3 separate regions of the Homo sapiens genome follow, and regions 1 and 3 are each linked to region 2. Evidence: promoter capture Hi-C in 16 types of primary human blood cells and fetal thymus (Javierre and others, 2016). All regions are on one chromosome and are shown on one strand. Each heading gives the region's core, a stretch centred on a gene start or on the middle of the fragment in contact. The rest is flanking DNA. Distances are from core to core; before and after follow the strand shown. Region 1 overlaps PLEKHA1 (pleckstrin homology domain containing A1). Region 2 holds the start of ABRAXAS2 (abraxas 2, BRISC complex subunit). Region 3 overlaps PLEKHA1 (pleckstrin homology domain containing A1).

Region 1 (3,122 bases), core at 133-2,632, 2.4 Mb before region 2:
GTTAAGTTTGAGATAGCTTGTTAGATAAGTGGAACCGTAGAATAGGCAGTTGTATACATGGGTCTGGAGGTCAACAGTGTTCAAGGCTGGAGATAACAGTCTGGAAGTCATCAATATTTAGGCCTGTGAGAATGAGTAACCTCACCAAGACACTGAGTATATATAGGAAAGAGATCCACAGACCACCCTCTGGGATACTCCAACAATAGAGGTCTGGGAGATGAAATATTCCTTAGGGTTTCTTATGTACTCTAGAATGAAAGACAATTGTAATCGTTTCTTTTTTTAGAAAAAGCTTTATTGAGATAATTCACACTATATAAATCACTTATTTAAAATGTATGATTTAGTGCATTCACAGTTACGTGGACAACACCACAATCAATTTTAGAATATTAGTATCATCCCCAAAGAAACCCTGTACCCTCCTATCCTTAGACAACAACTCATTTCCCCTGTACCTAGGCAACTAGTAATCTACCTTCTAGCTTTATAGATTTGCCCATTCTGCATATTTCATGTCAGTGGAATCATACTATACTTGGTTTGTTTAGAGAGAAGTGGTATCCATTAGTACCTAGCTTCTAGATTCAATAGATACCAAGTTACTTGGTAAAGGTGGGGGCTATAAGATCTCTCCAATGTAAAGATACATTTCCTGTTTGCAATTAGTAACAAAACTGTGGGGTGATATTTTGAGACTATGAATATTCTGTTTCCTAACAGCATTTCATCTAGTGGTTTTAGTGTTCATTGAAGATGCTTGTGTAAATCAGTGAGACATTGGGATTACAAAGTGGTGATTTTCTATTACTGTCATATCTTCAGAAATGATGTAGTTCATATTATTTCTAATTCAGATGTATTGTACACAGTTTGTTCTTTTGTTTTTTGTTTGTACCTCTTTTCTCTCACTGTGAAAGTCTTGGTTCCTAATAACAAATAAATGTTTTCTTTTATTTTAAATATAATCATATCAACATATTTACATTATCCAATAATGTACATTATAATGGTCTGGAAGTCTTGTTATACCTAAAATGTTTCACATTACAGTACCAAGTAGGAATGCTGGATCATAGGATAAAAGCATATATGATTTTGTTAAATAGTACCAGATTCACCCAGTAGGGTTTTACCATTTTGCCTTCTTGCCAGCAATGTAAGAGTTTCTGTTTTCTTACAGCCTCATCAGTATAGTGTGTTGTCAAACTTTTGAATTTTTGCCAGTCTAATAGATGAGAAATGGTATATCTGTATAGTATAGATTTAAAAAACTTTTCTATTATGGAGATTTGTGAACATCCACAAAAATAGAATAGTGTAACCAATCCCATGAACACCATCATTTAGCCCCAGCAACTACCAACCCTGCCACCAGTGCCTCCGTTTATTCCCTTCTCTAAAAATTATTTTGAAACAAATCCCAGATAACATTTTTTTCTTTTCTTTCTTGCTTTTTTCTTTTCTTTCTTTCTGTTTTTTTTTTTTCTTTTTTTTTTTTAGAATGGGTCTTGCTCTATTGCCCAGGCTGGAGTACAGTGGCACAATCATAGCTTACTGCAGACTCAATCTCCTGGGCTGAAGCGATTATCCCACCTCAGCTTCCCAAGTAGCTGGGACTACAGGCACACACCACCATGCCTGGCTAATTTTTTTTTTTTTTTTTGGCAGAGATAATGTCTTGTCATTTTGTAGGCTTGAATTGCTGAGCTCACACAATCCTCCTGCCTCAGCCTCCCAAAGTGCTGGGATTACAATTGTGAGCCATCATGCCTGGCCCCAGATAAATAACATTTATTTTATATCAGTAAATATCTCTAAATGAAAAGGACTCCTCCTTTTTTTGGTAACAATCACAATGCCGTTATCACACCAAAAATAATGTGTCTGTTTTCTTAATATCATCAGACAATATTCAAATTTCCGATTTTAAGTATGTCAGTGTTTTTTTGTTTGTTTTTGTTTTTATTTTTAAAGAAACAGGATTTAAATAAAATCCACATGTCGTGATTGGTCCAGATATCTAAAGTCTTTTTTAATTCATAGGTTTCTCCTCTAGTTCCTTTTCTTCTCCTGCTTTTGAATTTAATTTTAAAGAAACCAGTTATCTTTCCTGAGCCATTTCTTACTGTATAGATTTTGATATTTGAATCCCTGTGGTAGTCTCTCGTGTTGTTCTGTTCTTGGGATGTCATTGGCAATGGCTACATCTCGGTATGGTTTTTTTGTATTTGTCCTGTTATGAGTGATACTGAATATCTCATCATATATTTAAAGGCCATTTTTATATCTCTCTTGGTACAATGTTCATGTCTTTTACTCATTTTTCTATTGAACGTTTGATATATTTCCCTTAACATTTTTTGCAAGCTCTTTAAATGCTAGGGAGATTAGCCCTTTGTTTATGATATAAGTTGCAAATATTTTCTACTGGCTTTGACTTTGCTTATCAGGTTTTTGCCATGGAAAGCTTTTAAAAAACTTTATTTGGCTGGGCGCGGTGGCTCACGCCTGTAATCCCAGCACTTTGGGAGGCCGAGATGGGCGGATCACGTGGTCAGGAGATTGAGACCATCCTGGCTAACACGGTGAAACCCCGTCTCTACTAAAAATACAAAAAATTAGCCGGGTGAGGTGGTGGGCGCCTGTAGTCCCAGCTGCTCGGGAGGCTGAGGCAGGAGAATGGTGTGAACCCCAGGGGGCAGAGCCTGCAGTGCGCCGAGATCGTGCCACTGCACTCCAGCCTGGGTGACAGAGCGAGACTCTGTCTCAAAAAAAAAAAAAAAAAAATGACTTGTAGTCATTTATAAATGAGTTTTTAAAATTGTTACTGCTCCAGGTGTGGTGGCTCACACCTGTAATCCCAGCACTTTGGGAGGCCAATGCAGGTGGATCATTTGTGGTCAGGACTTTGAGACCAGCCTGGCCAAACATGGTGAAACCCTGTCTCTACTGAAAATACAGAAATTAGCCGGGTGGTAGTGGCTCAGTGCCTGTAATCTTAGCTACTCAGGAGGCTGAGGCATGAGAATTGCTTGAGCCTGTGAGGTGGAGGTTGCAGTGAGCCGAGTATCACGCGACTGCACTGCAGTCTGGGCAACAGAGTGAGACTCTACCTC
Region 2 (3,166 bases), core at 454-2,953:
TGTCACTACTATACCAAACTGTTTATTTGCCTGAATTTCCTCCATCCTTTCATCCTTGAGCTTGTAAATGTTGCCTTTTTTCTTTTCCTTTTTTTTTTCTTTGAGACAGAGCCAGAGCGCAGTGGCACAATCTCGGCTCACTGCAATCTCTGTCTCCCGGGTTCAAGCGATTCTCATGCCTCAGCCTCCTGAGTAGCTGAGATTACAGGCATGCACCAGAATGCCCGGCTAGTTTTTGTATTTTCAATAGAGATGGGCAGAGGGGAGTGGGCAGGGTCTCACCATGTTGGCCAGGCTGGTCTTGAACTCCTTGTCAGGCCTCTGAGCCCAAGCTAAGCCATCATATCCCCTGTGGCCTGCACGTATACATCCAGATGGCCTGAAGTAACTGAAGAATCACAAAAGAAGTGAAAATGACCGGTTCCTGCCTTAACTGATGACATTACCTTGTGAAATTCCTTCTCCTGGCTTAGAAGCTCCCCGACTGAGCACCTTGTAACCCCCGCCCCTTCCCACCAGAGAACAACCCCCTTTGACTGTAATTTTCCACTACCTACCCAAATCCTATAAATCGGCCCCACCCCTATCTCCCTTGCTGACTCTCTTTTCGGACTCAGCCCGCCTGCACCCAGTTGAAATAAACAGCCTTGTTGCTCACACAAAGCCTGTTTGGTGGTCTCTTCACACAAACGCGCATAACACTCCTGACCTCAGGTTAACACTCCCCACACACGCCCCCCCCTCCCAAAGTGCTGGGATTACAGGCATGAGCCACCGCGCCCGGCCTCAAATGTTGGCTTTTTGTTTTGTTTTGTTTTTGAGACGGAGTCTTGGTCTGTCACCCAGGCTGGAGTGCAGTGGCGCGATCTCGGCTCACTGCAAGCTCCGCCTTCCAGGTTCACGCCATTCTCCTGCCTCAGCCTCCTGAGTAGCTGGGACTACAGGAGCCCGCCACCACGTCCGGCTAATTTTTTGTATTTTTAGTAGAGACGGGGTTTCACCGTGTAAGCCAGGATGGTCTCAAACTCCTGACCTCGTGATCCGCCCACCTCGGCCTCCCAAAGTGCTGGGATTACAGGCGCGAGCCACCACGCTCAGCCTAAATGTTGGCCTTTTTTTTTTTTTTTTTTTTTTTTTTTTGAGACGAAGCTTCGCTCTTGCTGCCCAGGCTGGAGTGCAATGGCACGATCTCGACTCACCGCAACCTCCGCCTCCCGGGTTCAAGCCATTCCCCTCCCTCAGCCTCCCGAGTAGCTGAGATTACAGGCATGTGCCACCACGCCCGGCTAGTTTTTGTATTTTCAATATAGACAGGGTTTCTCCATGTTGGTCAGGCTGGTCTCGAACTCCTGACCTCAGGTGATCCGCCCGCCTCGGCCTCCCAAAGTGCTGGGATTACAGGCGTGAGCCACTGCGCCCGGCTAGAATGTTGTCTTTTAATACTAAGGTTTCACTTGCAAAGGGAAAGAACTGTTTGCGGAACTATCAACCGCTGTCTGAGGCGTGTCGGGAGCGACACCCCTGCGGAGGATACGGTGCCGGGGTCCTTCCGATCGCAAAAACCGGCGTTCCTCAGCCTTCAAGACTGTGAGCGCTCAGGGCCCTCGGCCGCTGCCCGCCGCAGACTCCACTTCCCATGATGCCAAGGGGTCGGGCCGTCCGGAAGGCCGTGTGCCCTCCGCGGGGCATGATGGGGTAGCTGGAGATTTCCATCATGGCGGCGTCCATTTCGGGCTACACCTTCAGTGCTGTGTGTTTCCACAGCGCCAACAGCAACGCGGACCACGTAGGTGCCGGGCCCCCTGCCGCGCCCGCTGGGGGCTTTCAGCCTCTGTCTCAGGCCGGCGCTCGCGGCCAAGCCGGGACCTCATGCGGCTCGCCCCCTGGGCACCAGGGCCGGCCGGAGGAGCTGGTGACCCGGGCGGCTCCCGCCCCCGGTGAGCTCTTGCCTCTGGGGGCTCCTTCGCCCCTGGGACAGGCCCCCTGGCTTCGCGCTCTCAGCCGCTCGGCCGTCCCGGCACAGCCGTCTCCCGTGCAGCAAAACTGTCCCACCTGGCCTCCTGCAGTGTCAGGAGTCGCTCGGTGGAAACCGAGCGCCTGCCCCTCCCTGAAAGTCAGGCTTCTAGACTTAAGAGGGGCGCACGGGGTCGGGAAGGAATCTAAAGGCCGGGCGTTTAGTCCAGTAGGCGAGGTACTCAGCCCCGCCCGCCGGTCTCGCAGGTTGTCGTGGGGGTGCTGCGAGTGAAACCGTGGCTGTCACTACTGATACTTGTTAGACACGGTTGTGTGTTTTCTTCGCCCTGATGCAAAATGGAGAATGTATACAGGAGCGTTCGGTGCAGGGTCTATTTTGTATTTCCTTGAAGTTGCGTGTTTAGTTCTTTGTGACTAGTTCTTTCACTAGTCACAGTGAAATAGGGAAGTGACAGGCCCACTACTGAGTGATGGGAAATGCATAGGCTGTGAGCCCACAGGAGGAGCAGATCCTGTCTGTTTCAGTGTCTTTATTTTACAAATTGTCTTTTAACGTCATTGGCCTCTGATTGGAAATGCTTTGTGAAACTAGATCACTTCTCTCTTAAAGGAGGTATATAATTTGGCCACCAAATTGGGGGATTATTTTAAGTGATGTTAATAGTGAATGATTCAAACTCATTAAACCTATGTGTGGGGTTTTTGGTTGTCATTACAAAGCAAAATGGTACACTGCAGAAGGAGGAACTGCATTTGGTTTGATGTCAGCAATCTTAGCTTCCATTAATAAAAACTGATTTCACAGGGAGGTGATTCCATTAGTAAATTGAATGCAATTAAATTATTGTACCTTTCATCTCTTCAGTGTTGATGGTAGAACTTAATGATAGGAATAGGAATATATACATCATGGGTTTTTCCAGAAGCAGCTTTGAAGACTATGGCCTAGGGTACTACAACCAGCTATTTAATAATGTAATATAGTTCCATATGTAAGGGTTTGTGATACCCCTAGTGTCCATGGACTATTAAAAATGGGTCCTTTATTTCTTGAATGCCTACTAATATCACAGTTTATGTATATGGCAAGATTACTGTAAGAACAAGCAGCTACCTGTTGAAAAAAATTAATTCAAGAGATATCCCTTAATATCTACTCTGCAAGGCGTGGTGCTTGACTTCATAGAAATTT
Region 3 (2,997 bases), core at 218-2,717, 2.4 Mb before region 2:
TAATTATTGTATATTGATTTTTATATTATTAAAACTAAAACAGTGCATCTTTGCTTAATTGGTATAATATACAATTACTATAAAATATTTTTGTTTATTTCAAAAGTATTTATTATAAAAAATTTGGAAATTACATAACATTTAAAACTTCTCATGATTTCTCTGAGCCTTTCTTCATGTACTTTTCACCTCAGAAATGGAGATATGAGTTGTATATTACATTTTGTAAACAGATTTTTTCACTTGTATCATGAACATTTTCCAAGTCATCAGAAATCCTTTTATATCATTTTTAATGAGTGCATAGTAGTTCTTCCATGGATTTACCATAAATTACAAATCCTCTATTGGACAAATAGAGTTCCTTTTCCTTTTTGTTTCTTTTACTTTATAAACAATGCTATGATGAATATTCTTAAAGGAGAAATTCCTAGAAATAAAATTGCTGAGTCAAGAGTTTGCAAGTAGTAATTTTTAAAATCTATTTTTTCTACAACCTGGCCTAAGTGAGCTAAACAGAAGACTGGAATTTTAACTAAGTTATATCTCAGAAGTACTAATATGCTAAATTAAGTCTTTATTTGAGTTTTAGGAAAAATATAAATTTACATACAATTTTTGATGAAATTAAAACTCTTGTCTGAGCTTGAATTTCTTGTTTTGCTATTGAAAAGGATGAATTTGTAATGGATATTAAGTTACTAGTAGTTGAGAAACCAAGAATTTTAAAGTAATCAATTGGTATTGCCAAGCTTGGGTATTTTCATTACCAGTGTGCCTTTTGAACTCAAAAGACTTTGACACTTTATAAATCTTTTAAATCAAATTGTATCATTCCCCACATTTTTCAGGTCTTTTGCTACGGGAGGGTGATTAGTGGGATTAGAAATCTTACAACATTAATTAATTAATTAACTATTGAGTGCTTTCTTTATGCTTGGCAAAGGGTATGTTAATGAACAGAAATTCCCTGCTGTCATAGAGCATACATTTTCCACCAAAGTTGGATAAAAAAATAAGCTAGGATTGTGTGTTTACTTTTTCCAAAAGTAATGATTTTAAACTGTTAACCTTCTGGTTACTATGTACCTAGATTAAGCTTCTTTCACTGGTATTATGACCTATGTTGACATAAGGGGTAAGACTATTTTCCTGTAGTTGTGTTAAGACACTGTATTAGTTTGTATCTGTGGCTGTTTTAATTTTGTCTAGAGTTAAGATTTTGTTGCATTGTAATTTTGGTATAGATATTTCAGTAGTTTCTAGGATTTTATGGAGGGTATAATTTTATTGCATCATTTATTTTGTAGTATAGTTTTAAAAATTATAAAATAATATATGTCTATCATAAAAGGCAAAAATTGGTAAATTGGACCTCATCAAAATAAAAAATACTTGCTCTATGAAAGACCTTCTTAAGAGGATGAAAAGAAAAGCTACAAACTGGGAGAAAATATTTGCAAACCACATGTCCAACAAAGGACTTTTATCTAGAACATAGAAAGAACTCAGAACCCAACAGTAAAAAGCCCAAGAAATCCAATTAGAAAATTCATGAACAGATATTTCATCAAAAGATAAAAGATAAACAGATGGTAAGTAAGCACATGAAAAGATGTTCACCATCATTAGCTAGCAGGGAAAAAATACAAATTAAGAGCACAATAAAAGATCACTGCACACCTCTCAGAATGGCTGAAATAAAAGTGACGACACAAATGCTGCCAAGGTTGAGGAGAAACATAATCTCTCAGGTGTTGCTGGTGGGAATGAAAATTAGCCACTCTGAAAAACAGTTTAGTGTTTATGTTTTGTTTTTTTTTTAATAATAAAAGTAAGCTTGTGATTACTGTACAACCCAGCATTTGCAGGACTAGGTGTTTATCGTAGAGAAAGGGAAAATTACATTCACATAAAAACTTGTGCATGAATGTTGATAGCAGCTTTTTTCCTAATAGCTAAAAGTGGGAAACAACTCAAATGTCCTTTAATGGGTGAACAGTTAAACAACTGGTCATCCATCCATACCATGGAAATATAGCAATAAAAAGGAATGAACTCTAGATACAAGGAACAGTCTGGACGAATCTCTAGAGAATTATGCTGAGTGAAAAAAGATAATCTCAAAAGATAACCTTCTGTATGCTTCCATTTACATTACATTTTCAAAATGTCAAAATTATAGTCTTGGAGAACAGATTAGTGGCTGCCAGGGGATTTAGGGGTAGGAACTCTAAAGTTCACAAAGGAGCCTTGGGGTGATGACCAATTCTGGGTCTTAAATGTGGTAGTAGTTACACAGATCTACACATGTGATAAAACTGCATAGAACTGTATAGACACACATAGATGAATGTATGTAAAACTGGTGGAATCCGAATAAAGTTTGTGGGTTGTGCCAATGTCCATTTCTTGTTTTTTGATAATGTTACGCCGTTTCCCTTTGAGGGGAAACTAGTGAAAGGGTACATAGGACCTGTTGTACTTTTTTTGGGCAGCTTCTGGTGAATCCTTATAATTATTTCAAAATAAAAAGTTAACTCCTTCCCCAAAAAAGAGCACTGGTGGCAGGACTTGTGCAAAACAAGAGGAATGGAAATTTGTGCTTTAATCAGTGACAGGAAAATTAAGAGTAAGTATCTCAGATTAATTAGAAAACTCTTCAAAAATCTGTTTCTGACTAATCTAAGGTGGATTTTAAGATTTTCTACTGGGATAATATGAAATAAAAGTATGCTAAACAAGCAAGAAAATAATTTATTTATTTTGCTTCATTTTAGAAAGAAGAAGTAAATGAATGTGGTGAAAGTATTGACAGAAATAATCTGAAACGGTCACAAAGCCATCTTCCTTACTTTACTCCTAAACCACCTCAAGATAGTGCGGTTATCAAAGCTGGATATTGTGTAAAACAAGGAGCAGTGGTGAGTAGCTTAACAAAATACATGAAATAATGAAAAAGGATTACGTTCTAGCAAACTCAAATTAACATGGAAA

Evidence for each region. The method cuts DNA at HindIII sites, captures the fragments that hold promoters and counts their contacts. A CHiCAGO score of 5 or more calls a contact.
Region 1: a contact is called between a fragment that was not itself captured here and the fragment with the promoter of ABRAXAS2 in region 2, in 1 of 17 cell types (non-activated CD4 T cells). The highest score is 6.3, in non-activated CD4 T cells.
Region 3: a fragment that was not itself captured here is called in contact with the fragment with the promoter of ABRAXAS2 in region 2 in 1 of 17 cell types (total CD4 T cells); the score reaches 5.1 in total CD4 T cells.

Annotation. Positions count from the first base shown.
Region 1 is chr10:122,381,835-122,384,956 of GRCh38, forward strand. All of the region lies in intron 1 of PLEKHA1 (pleckstrin homology domain containing A1), which reads left to right. Among named protein-coding and RNA genes, the nearest start is that of PLEKHA1, 8.7 kb to the left of the region's middle. The HindIII fragment of the contact is 2,178 bases long and covers 294-2,471 here.
Region 2 is chr10:124,800,116-124,803,281 of GRCh38, forward strand. It overlaps ABRAXAS2 (abraxas 2, BRISC complex subunit), which reads left to right and starts at 1,704. Exons shown (of 9, transcript NM_032182.4): 1 at 1,704-1,786. The coding sequence starts at 1,715. RefSeq lists enhancers at 1,303-1,857, 1,530-1,799, 1,858-2,411 and a silencer at 1,900-1,979. The HindIII fragment of the contact is 5,454 bases long and covers 1,148-3,166 here.
Region 3 is chr10:122,413,079-122,416,075 of GRCh38, forward strand. PLEKHA1 (pleckstrin homology domain containing A1) reads left to right here. Exons shown (of 12, transcript NM_001001974.4): 7 at 2,781-2,924. Among named protein-coding and RNA genes, the nearest start is that of MIR3941, 2.4 kb to the right of the region's middle. The HindIII fragment of the contact is 740 bases long and covers 1,098-1,837 here.